Linked DNA regions of Homo sapiens: regions 2, 3, 4 and 5 are each linked to region 1. The links are contacts of gene promoters, found by promoter capture Hi-C in blood cells and fetal thymus (Javierre and others, 2016). All regions are on one chromosome and are shown on one strand. The core of a region is centred on a gene start or on the middle of the fragment in contact, and the rest is flanking DNA. Distances in the headings are between cores, read along the strand shown.

Region 1 (2,700 bases), core at 177-2,676:
GCTGATTCCGGTTTACCAAGAGCATCCAAACATCCCTCAAGGACACAGTCATTTTGCACAACAAAGGGAAACTCCGCTCATTTCTGGCATTAAGGTGGACATCTGAGAAAGGGGAGGGTATACCACCATAACTTCTCTAGTGATGAATAGTGTTTAATATTATACCATAGACTAACTGGCGTATTTTAAAGATCTTTTTCCTTTTTGAACACATTTCAGATTAGAGAAGTTCCAGAGAACGTAATCTATTTTAAGAGTGTGAAAGAGTGATATTCCACATTGCTTTTATATCTTAAAGAAATTTCTAAAAAGAAAGCCGAGTCAATAAAATGACAGATTTTAAGCCTTCATTCTGGTAACATAAAAGCCTTCTACTCATTGTGTCTGCCACCTTAATTTTTAAAGATAGAGCATGAGGTGTAAGCTTTTGGCTTCCATTTTCCTCTTATAAACCAATGACATCTTCAGTTCCAGAATAGCTTTTTAAAAACGTGACTTCTGATAAATGTTGGCAGAACTGGTGCATTCCTAAAATAAATTATGTATGCTCAGCTTTCCCTACCCAAGTTCATCCCTAAATGACCACAAAACTGCCCACCACGAACTATGCTTAAGAGAAGTCTGGACATAATGGTATAAGTGTATATAACACGACATTGGTATATTTAAAAAAAAATTCATGCCTAGGGTCAATTCTGATAATCAAATTTAGACTGCTGCAACAACCGTAACTATTGTTGATATATGCGCAGTTTAAAAGTGAAGGGCGGGGGTAAGGGGCAGAAACTGCACACAACAAACTTCCAAATTTTGTCTCCCTTTTCAGGCAAGTTTCAGCTCCACAAATCTAAATACCCTCGCCTTTAAAATATCAGTGTCGTTCTGCTCTTAAATCCTCATCCCGTTGTACAAGGAAACCTATGTCTCTCTTCCCCAAATTAAGAATACGAGAAGCCTTCCAGGTCTGCAAATACCAGAAAGCAGCTGCGCATGAAGTTTTATGGGGCCCCAAGGCTCTGAGAGTGGGCTTGGAGGTATGGAAAACACATCCCAAGGGAAAAATCTGTGAACCGCACAACTGTGGTTGGAAACGAAATAGGAAAAAAACTGCGCGGAACCGGACGTCATCAGCATTTCGCGGTACACACGAAGAAAACAACCGTAGTCGGGTCAAAACTGGAGCCGTGTCTCCTCAGTAACGAGAGTAAATGGGGGCCCGACGCGTGAGCGGCCAGCCGGACTGAGACAGAAAGTACTCAGAGCGCCATTTACCGCGCCCTCGCCCCGCCCCGTAGCCCCTCCTCCCGTCCGCCCTGCGCGCCAGCCAATCCCCTCGCTCCATCCCCTTCCCATCGCAGACCCCGCCCCCGCGCCCGGGATGTTGAGCCCCCGCGGCGTGACGCGAGCACGGCAGCTCCTCCCCCTGCGTCTCTGGCCTCGCCGGTCTTGGGGGGATGGTTCCATCATGGCGTCAATGCAGGTGAGAGGAGTTTGCTGCATCTGGGCGGGCCAGGGAGCCGCCGAGAGAGTGCCAGCGTTCGGGCGGGGGTGGCGTCCGCGATTCGGGGACACCCGGGCGGGTTCGGGATCGGTCCGGGTGGCCTGTTTTCCCTCAGCTCAGGGCGTCGGGGGAGGGGTAAGAGGCGGCGAGAGGCGTTGTGGGGGGTGCGGTATCCGTCGGTCGAAGCGGACACCAGCCGGCCGGGAAGTTGGGTGATAAAGGAGGGTTGGGGAAGAAAGGGCAAAGTCTGGCGTTGGCGGTCTCAGAATCGGCTCCCCGCACACACACACGGGCGCTGCCAGTCTGCTGCCCGCCAGCCCCAGGGTTGCCTTTACCCCCGCTGTCCCTGGCCCGACGGAAACAGCTGCGCCCGCGGTTGTTGCCGGGGCAGGGGCGGCGGGGGGCTGAGTGTGCGGGAGCCGAGAATGCGTCTCCGGAGAAGGCGGCTGGCTGCGGACGGCGCTTAGCGGCCTCTGCTCCGGCCTCCCACGCCGGGCCCCCCAGACTGCTCGGCCCCGTCCCTCTCTTCTTCCCTTTGACTCTTAATCCTGTGCCCGTGGGTATCTTCTATTTCCATCAGCCTCGGTATTCTCGCGGACATTCCTCCAGCAGTCCACTGTCTCCTTCCTCTCGAAGCTGCCCCGTGTCCACCGCCTGATGGGCGATCTCCCGAGAGCCGAGTCCTCAGCCCCCTTAAACCTCTCGGGATAGCTTGCCTTCTATTTTGTTTCCCACTGCAAGGCCCCACCCTTGCGGTCGCGATAAGGCTATACATCTCTTTGCCCTTATTCCCAGACCTTTAGTGGAACCTTAGTTTGGTAGGAGGCGTTTGTTAACCTGTGCCATATCCCCCCGACTTAGCAAGGCGTGGTTTTCTGGCTTTCCAACTTAATTTACTCCTTTTTCCCGAATCTAGGGAGTTGTGGGTTTTTTTGTTTTTTGTTTCCAGGCAAAGATGGCAACCACAATTGTAGTTGTGCAGGGATTGAGTGCGTTATCTGTAGCCTGCATTTAATTCACAGGTGAAGACTAGCGGTATCAAAGGCATTGGAAGAGAAAGTAGAACGCTCAATAGGAGTGTCAGCTGAGTACCCTTTAGCGTTTTCATAATATCCCCTTGGGTAAAGAGACCACATTTTCTTAGAAGTGTTTTTTGCTTTTGTTTCTGGAAGAAGCAAGTCTCTGTTCCTCCTCCATTT
Region 2 (2,700 bases), core at 160-2,659, 420 kb before region 1:
TTGTTTATATCAGAAGTATTATCAATACTTACACACTTAGTACTGTGCTAGATGTGAATGGAGGAAAAAGCGTGGGCCTGACCCCCTCCGCCCCCCACAACGCACACACAAGCTTAGAGTCAATTAGAGAAAATGCATGTACATGGGAGGTAGTTAAAAAAATAACACGAAGCAATTCAGTCAGTCCCGTATTTGTTTATTAGTGCTCTGCCACATTCCATGAAGGTTTCATAGTTTATATAAACGTCAAAATGGCTAGTCTTCTAGGAATTAACAAAGGAGTGGATTGACTTGTTTATAAAGCAGTTCCAAAGACTTTTACTTGGCCTATAGCCTAGTGATATTTTGTTTTTGTTGTTTTTCATGGTACTGTGTGAATTTGACAGTAAAAGCATTTTGAAAAATTATTCTAACTCTTCGCTAGATCAGAGTAACTTTCAGCCCATTGTTGGAACTATGAAAATGTGATTCTAGAGTAAGTAGTCACTACTGTTTAATTCCGTAAGTGAAAACGAGGGCGAGAAGAACATATTGAAGGTTTTCTTTTCTTTTTTTCTTTAAACTTTTTAGTAATGAATCACTTTTGTGGTGTTAAAAGTTCAGCTACAAAACTTTATTGTTTAAAAGTTTTCTTTAAATTACAGTTGCTATATTTGTAACAGTTAAAGATGTGCCACTGTATTCAGCACCCAATGACAACATGTTAAAGATACTTCAAGGGAAATAGAAGGCATACACCAACAAAGGGAAAAAACAAAACAAGCCTCAGACAGGCACCCCGCTCCCCATAAACAGTGTCTATGTAAATATGCATATGTGGCTGTGGTTAAAAGAAAAACTTTAGCCAAATTTAACAGAGTTTAATTGAGCAAAGAACAATTCGCACATCAGGCAGCCACCCGAGCCAGAGTGGGTACAGAGATTCCAGTGCAGCTGTGTAGTTGAAGAAGGGTTATAGACAGAAGAAGGAAAGTGAGGTACAGAAACAGCTGATTGGCTACAGCTCGTCATTTGCCTTATTTGAACACGGCTCGAATCGTTGACCCCCTTTGATTGGCCCAAAACTCAGTGATTGACACAAGAGTAAGCTACAATCTGTATACAACTCCATTTAGGTTATAGTTCGTGGTGTGCAGAGAAACCTTTAGGCTGAATGTAAAATATGTAAGGAGGCAGCTTTAGGCTACACTTAACACCCTAAAGAAATACTGAATAATGAGAAAAAGGGAGAAATATTAGAAAGACGAGGTGAATAAAGAAGGTCCCGGTATGATTAGTGTGTCTGGTGCCAGGAAGAGTTGCTCTGGAATGACTTCGTAAAGAAGTTGGTCCTTCGGCAACATTTTAAAGGGAAGCTAAGGGAAGATTTGTTCACAGTGGATCGAAATTTTACCAGGTGGGAGAAGACCCCATCTAATGATGTACAGCCCGAGGAGAAAAAAACCCCCTCAAAGGCAGTAAAGGTCACCAGTGTTCATTATTTGTGGGCAGTGTCGTCTTCGTGGCTTTTTGTAATAGGTCTTAATTTTAGCTTCATAGCCTGTTTAATCTTCTCCTGATATTCTGGGTTGATGTTTCGTAATGGCTCCCATTGCCAGTAGTAGAACCTGAAAACAAGGATCTTTCATATGCACACAGGTCTCTCGTGCCTTCATTCTACCACCAGGAAAAACATCCAGAAAGGTAATAAATTTGTGGAGAACAGCAGTGGTATGACTACTCATATTTCTGAAAATGAATGCTGTTGTAGGAAAGTTAGGAAAGTGGTGGAGATATTAGCTACAGCCCTACTGTCAGATTTGTACCCTGTAGCTTCATCCTCTTTTGAAAAGTCTTACAACAAACCCACCTGGATTTTGCGTTGCAGTGCCGTCGAGTACAGCTGAGTCATGGCAAGAGAAGAGGACAATTAGATAAGGGGTGCCTGACTATTAAAGGATCTGAAAAGCACTAACCAGGGTATTATGCAACACACAAGTGGAAACCGTTTCAGAGTGCCGAGGAAGTTATTAACAGGAGCAAAACAACATGTGAGGAGAGTGATTTTAGCTACAGTGCTCAAGGTAGATTGCAAGCAGCAGAAGTTGGGGATGAGATCATAAAGGACATGAATAAATGCATCTAGGCAATAAAGAACTGCACCCTTGAAATTTGTAAAGGAAAACCCATCTTGTATACAACAACCAGCTGTATACAAGGGAGTTAACGTTCTAAGGATGTGAGTACAATTAGCTAAGAGCATAAGTGGCACCATAAAGGCTGATGGAGACATTATGGGGAGAAAGATAGTGAATCTGATGTGTGGACATTCAAGGTGATAGATAAAAAGATAACATGAGTTTCAAGTAAGAACAGTACTTTGAAGCCTTGAGCACTTAGCAGCTTCCCGAGGATATGAATACATCAAAATTGGAGATTGGCACTGGCATTTATAACAGCAATTATTAGGAAAGTGAGTAGAGGGGGCTGGAATAGAGAAATCTCTAAAGAAGAGGCAGAGATGATGACCTGTGTGTGGAAAGAAGCAGAGAATTATTTTTGTGCTACTATTAAGACAAAATGCTAGACAAGGTTCAATTGTTGTTATAAATGTAATTTCTCTATATAATTTCATCATCTAAAATCAAATTAGCAAGTACTTTTTATTTAAGGGGTAATAAGAGTAGTCATCACACTATCTAGATAGCCACACACTATCAA
Region 3 (2,700 bases), core at 73-2,572, 460 kb before region 1:
AAGGAATCTTTCCAGAGACTTAAGATCATTTGGAATATAGCTTTGTCATTCAAATTAGAGTATTTAAGAATACACTGGAATTTATTTTTCAAACATCCTTGCTGTTGTGTTCTTTTCGTCACTAAATAATACACAGAAAAGTTAATTTATGTCTGCATTGTCTCTGGCTACGTGAGAAACACGGCATAAAAACTCAGAGACATAAGCTTTAAAGAAAGAAAATGCTAATGTTGCAAAGGTTTCTCTAAGTAAGATTTTGCTTTGTAACTGTATAAATAGGGCAAGTTAAAGTTCTGGGCAGCAGCAGACAATGAGCAGCAATAATCATTTATGTTTCTTTGGCACCAGCTTCAACACACTGGTATGATTTTTTTTTTCTTAACCACCCGTTACCAAGGACAGTGACAGCACAAATATGAGAATGATTACAGTACTATAAAAACATACTTCACTTACCTTGTTTGTCTTAATAAGATCCTAAAGAAGCATAAGATAACAGTGACAATAGAATATAGTGCTGAATTTTACAGAGACACCAAAGTGTAAAACAACATTGGCTTTCACTTAAGTACTATATTTTTCAAATAAAAGTAATATTGCAATCCATAAAGAAAAGATCAATTTAAATCCTCAGTATGTAATTGAAACAAATGAAAGCACGGAGTTGAGTCTGTGGTTACTAAAGTTCCATGAGAGAAAGGGGTGATGTGGCCAAAGTGAACCTGCTTCCAGGGATTCCCTGCGGGGACAGGTTGGAAAAGTCGGTGAACCACAAAGATGGCAGAGCGGAAAAGCTTCACTTTATGAAACTGCATCATTTTGGAGCAGGGAAGTTTAACAGAAAAAAGGGAAACTGGTCAAATTCAGGTGATGCCTTGGTTTCCAAAGCACATATGAAGAATCAGCTACATATGTTAGCTTGAAAACTATTCAGCCTAAGAGACTCCTGCTGTATGCAAGTTATGAAAATGCATAAGCCCCATCCTACCAGTTTCAAGTGGCAAAAGAAGATGGTAAAAACACAACTCCCCAGAGATATGGACATTTAGTATATGAAATTGGAATATATATGAAAATAGAGAGATGAAGTTGAGGCATCTAGAGCCTTAATGGCTAAAATCCAGTGGCTTGGTCTGGAAGGGAAGCCTTGATGAGTTTTGAAGGGAGATATTCCTTCCTGTTAGACTTCCCAGAGCAAAGGTGCTGATTCTGTGCAAAGAAGTCACTGAAATCTGATGGGCCCTCTTTAAATAACTGATGATCAATGAGAGCCCTCTTTTTTACCTTCCTGATTACATCTGGGCCTTCACGGCTGTGGCAGCTGCAGACAACAGCAAGTTCTCAGGCAGACATGCAGGGAAGTTCTCAGCTCCGCTCTCAAGAGCCCTGAGCCAGTTGTCCTGAAAGCTGATTTAGAATGTCCTCCCCTGTGGCCAAGAGGGTGCCAAGCCCCTTCTAGCTCTGAGTTGGGGTCTAGACCCTATGCCCTGTTTCTTTCTGTGCTAAGTCACAGCTCTGAAATCAGCACCAACTTTTGTACACGTTGCTTCCAAAGCCCTGAGCCACCCCTCATAGCAGTGGGCCTGCTGGGTGCCGTAAATGTGATCCTGTCTGTCGTTTTAGCCTCAGCAGAAGAGCGACATGACCATATTTATTGCTGTTGCTATTCTGGGGGGTGGATGACGTTTTTCTCCCCTTGTGGCTGAGCCCTGCCTGTTCATCTTTCACCACTCCCTCCAAGTCTACAAGACTAAAACCAGTGATACAAATAGATTCTATCAGGAGGAAAGTTAAAATGAGAAGTTCTTAGGCATTTCCAAATCTATCTGCTGTATGTCATCAAAAGCTTCAAAATCTGTTGGCCTACATTTTAAACGTGTACTGTTAGCATCCCACTAGTACCATAAACAGCTATTGGTGGTAACCTTGTTAAGGAAAGAAAAGATGGATAAAGGGTGGGGGCGGGGGGAGCGGGGGGTGAAAAAAACAGTTTGACTGATAAGCACAGCTTAGAAATTTGGCAAATATTGGCTTTTTCACTGCGGAGTGTTGGGAGTGTCCAAGTGTTGCCAGAACACTTGAAGATTTTCTACTTGCCTGTGTGTGAGCTCAGTCTCTCCACTCTTCCTAAGACACTCCTCTTTTGTGACGTGAAAGAAACTAAATGACAAGCCACCGAAACTCCAATTAAGGATAAAATGATACAAGGCACAGGTGACGGCTCCTGGGACGTAAGTATACACAGGTTTTCTAAATGAAGGACTTAGATACATAAATAACTAATTACAACATGCATTACATGATGCACCAAAAGAGAAGGACTCTTCCTGCTTTTTGGGGTTGTAAAAAGGAAAGAAAGAAAGAAAGAAAGAAAAACAACAAATGAGACTGATTTTGGCTCCCTCCATGTCTGTATGCACCTAGTTCATCATATGCATGTGACATTTTAGCTTTGCTAAAATGACTGTTCAGATTCTTTGTGCTCTTCTGCAAATTTGATTTGAAATGTACACAGAAGCAGAACAGTATAGCGGAGGCTGCAGGTTGCAGAGGTGATGAGCATGGGCTGTGGGTGTAGAGCCCCGCTTGGCCACAGCCCAGGTGTGGAAGTGCTTGAAGATGCCATTTCCTCTGTAAAATTAAGGTCATAACAGTAGCCACCTTCTAGGCTTGTTGTGAGAATTAAATGAGAGAAATCTC
Region 4 (2,700 bases), core at 177-2,676, 360 kb after region 1:
GACAGAATTCCACTTTATAGATATTCTATAGCCATTATGAAATCCAGAGAGTATCAGTCTACTTGCTGGCAGAACCGACATTCAGGCTGTCCCCTGATACTGTCGTGCCAATTGTTAAAATGTTTAAATACTTTCATTCCACATGGCAAATAGCTGCTACCTCATGCTTCACCCCCTGCCTTCATGGCCTCATGTCCAGGACCTCTGGGACTTCCCCATGGTCTAGGAACTAATAGGTCATTATTTGGCCCAGCAGTTTTCAGGACTCTGTTTTCTTTTCTAATTTTATTTTCAGTTTTCATGGCACACTATTAAATAGTTTTAATACTACTGCTGCTTTCAGAGGTATATGTAAGAGTTAAGGTCTTCAGGAAAAAAAAATCCAAAAGTGTTCATTTTCAAAGAGTTTTTAGAATTTTCATTGAAGATCAAGAAACATTTTATTCACTCAACAGTCATGTTTTAACCACCAGCTGCATGTCCACCACTGTACTAGATGCTAAGAAGTATCTTCTATTTTGTAAATAAAGTCCTAAATTGATTATAATTAAAAGTTGGAGGCAAGGGTTATATGAGAAGTCTCTGTAAGTTGTGCTCAATTTTTCTGTGAATCTAAAACTGTTCTAAAAAATAAATCCTTAAAAAGGAAAAAAAAGTTGGAGAAAAAATAAAACATATACAGAAACAATTGAAGACCAATTGCAAACCAGTAAGATTTTGTGCCAGAAATGTTTTAAAAATCTACATATGAATACTGAAGAGCTATGGAGTATAGGAATGATCAACAACAGAAGAATTAATCTGATTAAGCTTCTTTTAGGAGTTGATGGACCAAAAATTGAAAGGCAGATTATAAGGACATTCCACATAGGGGAAACAGCATGAGAAAAGGTAGAAAAATGGAAGTTGACAAAGAATATGTGGGGATAGAAAAACTCAACTTGGTGGGAGTTCCAGACATAAATGATTGTACATGAGATCAAGGCAGTTGAATACATTCTTGAAAGGTAGGCTGAGCAGTATGAAATTTATGTTCTTTGCAACAAAGAGCCGTTCTTCATTCAGGAACAAGGGATGTGATTATGCTGGTGTCTATAAGATCAATCTAGCAGCCAGATGCAGAACTGACTGTGATGAGGAGGAAGGCTTCTATCATAGGAATTTAGGAATGGATACTGATCACCTTGATGGGTGTGACTCTGAAAATGGCAAGGAAAGCAGCATCTCTCCTAAAGAGACATTGCAGAGAAAAAATCAGCAGGCCTTGATGACCAGCTGAGTATGAAAGAGTGAAAAAAAGCTCTTAACAATAGTTCTAAAGGTAGACTACCAAAAGAACAGAGTGAGAGCTGAACAAATTCCCTTTCCAAAAAACAACAGAACTAGACAAAATTGTCAAAAACAGCAACTTTAGGACTCTGAAAATTGATAAAAGACACTCAACAAATTGAGAAGCATTTATTCATAGACAAACTATAGTGCTCCAAGTAAGCTAATTAGGATTTTGTGGTGTTTCTGCCTGCGGGTGCTCCCATCCCCCACCTGCAGACTCAGCACAATAGTTCTACAAGGGTAAAGAAGGCCATGAAAACCATCAGTTTCACTGATGGAGTGGCCTTCCTTGATATGAAATGGAATGTGAAAGCCCCATGCCCACCAACATTATGAGTAACAGTAGACATCTCGGTAAGAGACAAGAAAGGCTAGCTAGCAACTCAGTGAACCTGAGGTTACATTCCTAGTTGGGGCCAACAGTGTATCAGCAGACTAGCCAGAAATCTATCAGGGAGATTTGGGAAAATGGCACAGTGATAGGGAGCCTTGATAAACTCACCAAAACACTTCAAACACAAGCAGGAGATATCAAAGAGGGCTCAAGCTACCTATACACCCTGGATGACTGTGAAATCTGCACATATGCAGAGAAGATGCAAAAAGGCCTGGCAGAAAGTAAATGCCAGGGCAGACTTGAAAACTGCCTGAGTTTTTAATGGGCTCCCCCAACCCAACCACAGACCCATGGGCAGAGGGTAAAAGCTTTACTAGCTTAGGGTATTTGAGCATAACCACCGACTAATTACTGGCTGACCACTAAGCTATGCAGACATGGGAGTGACCCCTAAGAATCAGGCTTAAAAATAAAAACAAAAATAAGTTTTAAAAAATTAAGTAGAGAGATAAGCAGCGATGCACCATGAAGGAGATGGATTCCACAGATTTAGTTTAGGCAACTTAATAAACAAAAAAAGAAAACCACAGCAAGAACAACAATCCCGAGGGAAGAACATAAAAATCCAGAGTTAGTACAATATTGTACCTAAAATTCAGGCTTAAAAAATTACAAGATATTTAAAGAAAGAAAAGGGTGATTAATACTTAGGGGGAAAAAGCAGTGAATGGAAGCAGAAGCTGAGTGTTTCTGAGTGGGCTCAGATGTACTATGCAGACAGATACTTCAAAGCAGCTAAAATATGTTCAAGGAATTAAAGAAAACCAGGATTAAACGAAAGTATAACAACAATGGTTCAACAAATAAAGAATCTCAAGATAAATTATTTAAAAAGTCAAATGGAAATTCTGGAGTTGAAAAGTACAATAACCGAAATGAAAAATTCACTTGAGTAACTCAATAACAGATTTGAGATGGCAGAAGAACCCACACCCATAAACTTCAAGATAGATCAGCGTGTAGCTTTGAAA
Region 5 (2,700 bases), core at 84-2,583, 390 kb after region 1:
TGTGTGTATGTTGATGGCATTGGCATTTGCTTTTCTTCCTAATTTTTAACTCTGAATCATGTAGAAAGTATTTTCAAGAGAGTACTTATCTAGGAAGCATCTTGTCAATTGGAGGTGATTTACTAAGCCTCGGATTCCATTTTAGCATTGGCTGGTAATGACCGTGCATTGATGGAAGCAGTAGGAGAGGTTGACTAAGGTAATGAGTACTGCTGTGATTGTGGAGTCACCTCTGAGAACTTTCACTGAACTCTGTACTTAGGCTTTCCAAAACAACTAAAAAATTCTTAACAATAGAAAACAGTCTGAGCTCATTTAATGGATACCTGGTAATTTTCTGACATAATAGTAGCTTGTATGGCATAGTTTACAATGCCAATCTGAGTCAGTAACAAAGAAATGCTTTATTGTTTTTGTACTCTACATTTACACTAAACTCCTAAATGTTGAAAGTAGAAAACACATCTTGGTACTGGGCCTTTTCTCACCCCAGCCCCCACCTCTACTTCTTGGTGGTGTGGGGAAGGAATTTTCCATTAACTCTCTCTCTTTCTCTGTGGCCAGCATAAAGGAAAATAATCAAAACACGCCAAATCAGAAAAACACTGAACCATGAGATCTTACTCAGTTTAATGGTTTCTTCTCTTGCGTATTTTTACATTGCTCAAAGAAGACTACTTCTCATTTATTTCTTAAGGATAAGTTTAGTGTACTAATTTTGAACCAAGGAGTCAGAAAATGGAAGTTCTAGTCCGAACACATGAACAAGTAAATATTTGGCAAATCACTTAAAGCTCTGTAGGCCTTAGTTTCCTCATCTGTGAAATAATGGGTTTGATCTTTGCTATCTTCAAGGTTCTTTACTGTCCTATAATTATTTGATTGAATCTGTTCCAGGTTTCTAACTTAGGATAAAAGTTTGTTTGAAAATAAGATTTTAAATGTAACTTAGCTAATTTTTTTAGTTAAAAAAAGCAAAAGTACACATTTAAAAAATATGTCTAAACCCCTTAAACAACTATTTCCCCATCCCTGCATGCTGTGCCTTCCTAAATAAATCCCAGAGCAAAGTCTAGGATGATTTTTTTGTGCACAAGTACACACAGAAATGTTAGGGGAAATAGACTGTGTGCCTATTTAAGTCACCTGTTGAGAAAATAGGCAACTATTGACAAGTCTGATTCATGGCTGAGTGACTGCTCTGCTAGCCTTCACATGATCCCCACAGAGCAAAATCTTTGACCGCCTGCTAAACAAGGTCTGTTTGAAGTTTCTTTTTAACATTTCCAAAACGTTAATTCAGCAGGATGTCTCCTCTGGGGTTCTCCATGTCACCAAATCAGCAGCTGTTGAGATCCATTCACTTCAGCATGAAATGTTTTCATAAGTGCTTTTTTTATTTGTGACAACAGCAAAGTAAATATAAGCCTAAAATTCTACCTCATTCAACATTTACATGTGTTAAAACTGCTTCTGATTGTAGTTTACATTCATGGTGTTTATTTCCAGGCATTAATACTAATAGACAGTTTTACTGCCGAGGATTTGAGATCAGCCTTGCCTATAAAATAAACTATACCATGAATTTCTTTTCAGAATACTTTATTTAAACATTCATACTTTGAATATGTAAGAACTTACGACTTTAAAACAGAAGTGGATGTTTCTTATGAAGCTCTAATTTTTGTGATTTTTGTGCCAGTTTAAGGTACGTTTAAATCTCCAGATGAACTATTTGTTAATTTTGCATGGCATTATTTATCAATTCTTTAAGAAATTTCCTACTTTAGAAGGAAGAATATTGAGCTCCCAGGAAAATAATTTAACAGGATAAAGTAATGTAGAATTCTTGAGGTAAGGAACTGAGGACCAGCAAAATCTGATGGTAAAGATAAGGCACAGCAATTTCTACAGATCATATTGAATTGTTTGAATAGAGCTATACTCCTTGGAGCTGGAATCTTTTATTCCTTTTAAGTAAAGGCCGTGTATCTTTGATTGCAGAGTTAAAACATGAGAACTGCTACGTTTTCTCAACATGGATTGAGCTAAGTCCCTTTTAATGTTTATTCAGGTTTTAAAAGACTTAAGTGTAGTTTTACAAGTTCATTAGCTTGCCTCATTCTTTGAGATGCATCTCACCTTCATATTATCAAATTTCATTACATGCAAAGAATTATCAGATCAACCCATTATACAGCCTAGCAGCATGAAGTCTTTTTCCATCTACAGGGAGAATATTGTGTAAATCAGGCTCTCGGGTTTCAGTGGGAGGCAGAGGGTTGCGCGGTGTCCATTTGTCAAGTTGATGGCACCGCAGTGAGGTTACATTAGCTTGTCTTTGAACAGAAGTGAAATCTTATGCGAAGCTCCCCTTGCTGTCATTTACACGAACATCCATCCTCTTAAACCAAGGCCTCTGAGAAAAACAAAGTGATGGCACAATATAATCAGTCACTCAAGTTGTCTGTCATCTGTTTTCTTAAGGAAATGACTTTTAAGTTACTGGAGCAGAGAACTGTAGCAAATTAACAAAGGTTGTAGTAGTAAAAGTAGGTGGAATTTTTTTAAACTGCAGATGTCTTTCTGAGAAGATTTTATATGCAGAATGCCAAAAAGGATTTCCCCCCTCTCTTTCATAATGAATCTCATGAAAAGTATTACTTCCTGAACAATAGACCTACTGCTGTTAACAACTGG

Evidence for each region. The method cuts DNA at HindIII sites, captures the fragments that hold promoters and counts their contacts. A CHiCAGO score of 5 or more calls a contact.
Region 2: a fragment that was not itself captured here is called in contact with the fragment with the promoter of UBE2W in region 1 in 1 of 17 cell types (fetal thymus); the score reaches 6.8 in fetal thymus.
Region 3: a fragment that was not itself captured here is called in contact with the fragment with the promoter of UBE2W in region 1 in 5 of 17 cell types (fetal thymus, M2 macrophages, M0 macrophages and 2 more); the score reaches 16.4 in fetal thymus.
Region 4: a fragment that was not itself captured here is called in contact with the fragment with the promoter of UBE2W in region 1 in 1 of 17 cell types (M1 macrophages); the score reaches 5.9 in M1 macrophages.
Region 5: a fragment that was not itself captured here is called in contact with the fragment with the promoter of UBE2W in region 1 in 1 of 17 cell types (M2 macrophages); the score reaches 5.2 in M2 macrophages.

Annotation. Positions count from the first base shown.
Region 1 is chr8:73,877,588-73,880,287 of GRCh38, reverse strand. It overlaps UBE2W (ubiquitin conjugating enzyme E2 W), which reads left to right and starts at 1,426. Exons shown (of 6, transcript NM_018299.6): 1 at 1,426-1,480. The coding sequence starts at 1,466. LINC01617 (long intergenic non-protein coding RNA 1617) reads right to left here and starts at 1,306. Exons shown (of 3, transcript NR_147034.1): 1 at 1-1,306. RefSeq lists silencers at 1,194-1,483, 1,624-1,673, 1,694-1,953 and enhancers at 1,340-2,217, 2,694-2,700. The HindIII fragment of the contact is 3,471 bases long and covers 427-2,700 here.
Region 2 is chr8:74,297,805-74,300,504 of GRCh38, reverse strand. The region is part of intron 2 of JPH1 (junctophilin 1); the gene reads left to right. Among named protein-coding and RNA genes, the nearest start is that of JPH1, 22 kb to the left of the region's middle. The HindIII fragment of the contact is 2,590 bases long and covers 115-2,700 here.
Region 3 is chr8:74,338,472-74,341,171 of GRCh38, reverse strand. No RefSeq gene overlaps it. Among named protein-coding and RNA genes, the nearest start is that of GDAP1, 11 kb to the left of the region's middle. The HindIII fragment of the contact is 1,052 bases long and covers 797-1,848 here.
Region 4 is chr8:73,512,737-73,515,436 of GRCh38, reverse strand. All of the region lies in intron 13 of STAU2 (staufen double-stranded RNA binding protein 2), which reads left to right. Among named protein-coding and RNA genes, the nearest start is that of STAU2-AS1, 94 kb to the right of the region's middle. The HindIII fragment of the contact is 1,227 bases long and covers 813-2,039 here.
Region 5 is chr8:73,489,869-73,492,568 of GRCh38, reverse strand. All of the region lies in intron 13 of STAU2 (staufen double-stranded RNA binding protein 2), which reads left to right. Among named protein-coding and RNA genes, the nearest start is that of STAU2-AS1, 71 kb to the right of the region's middle. The HindIII fragment of the contact is 3,881 bases long and covers 1-2,700 here.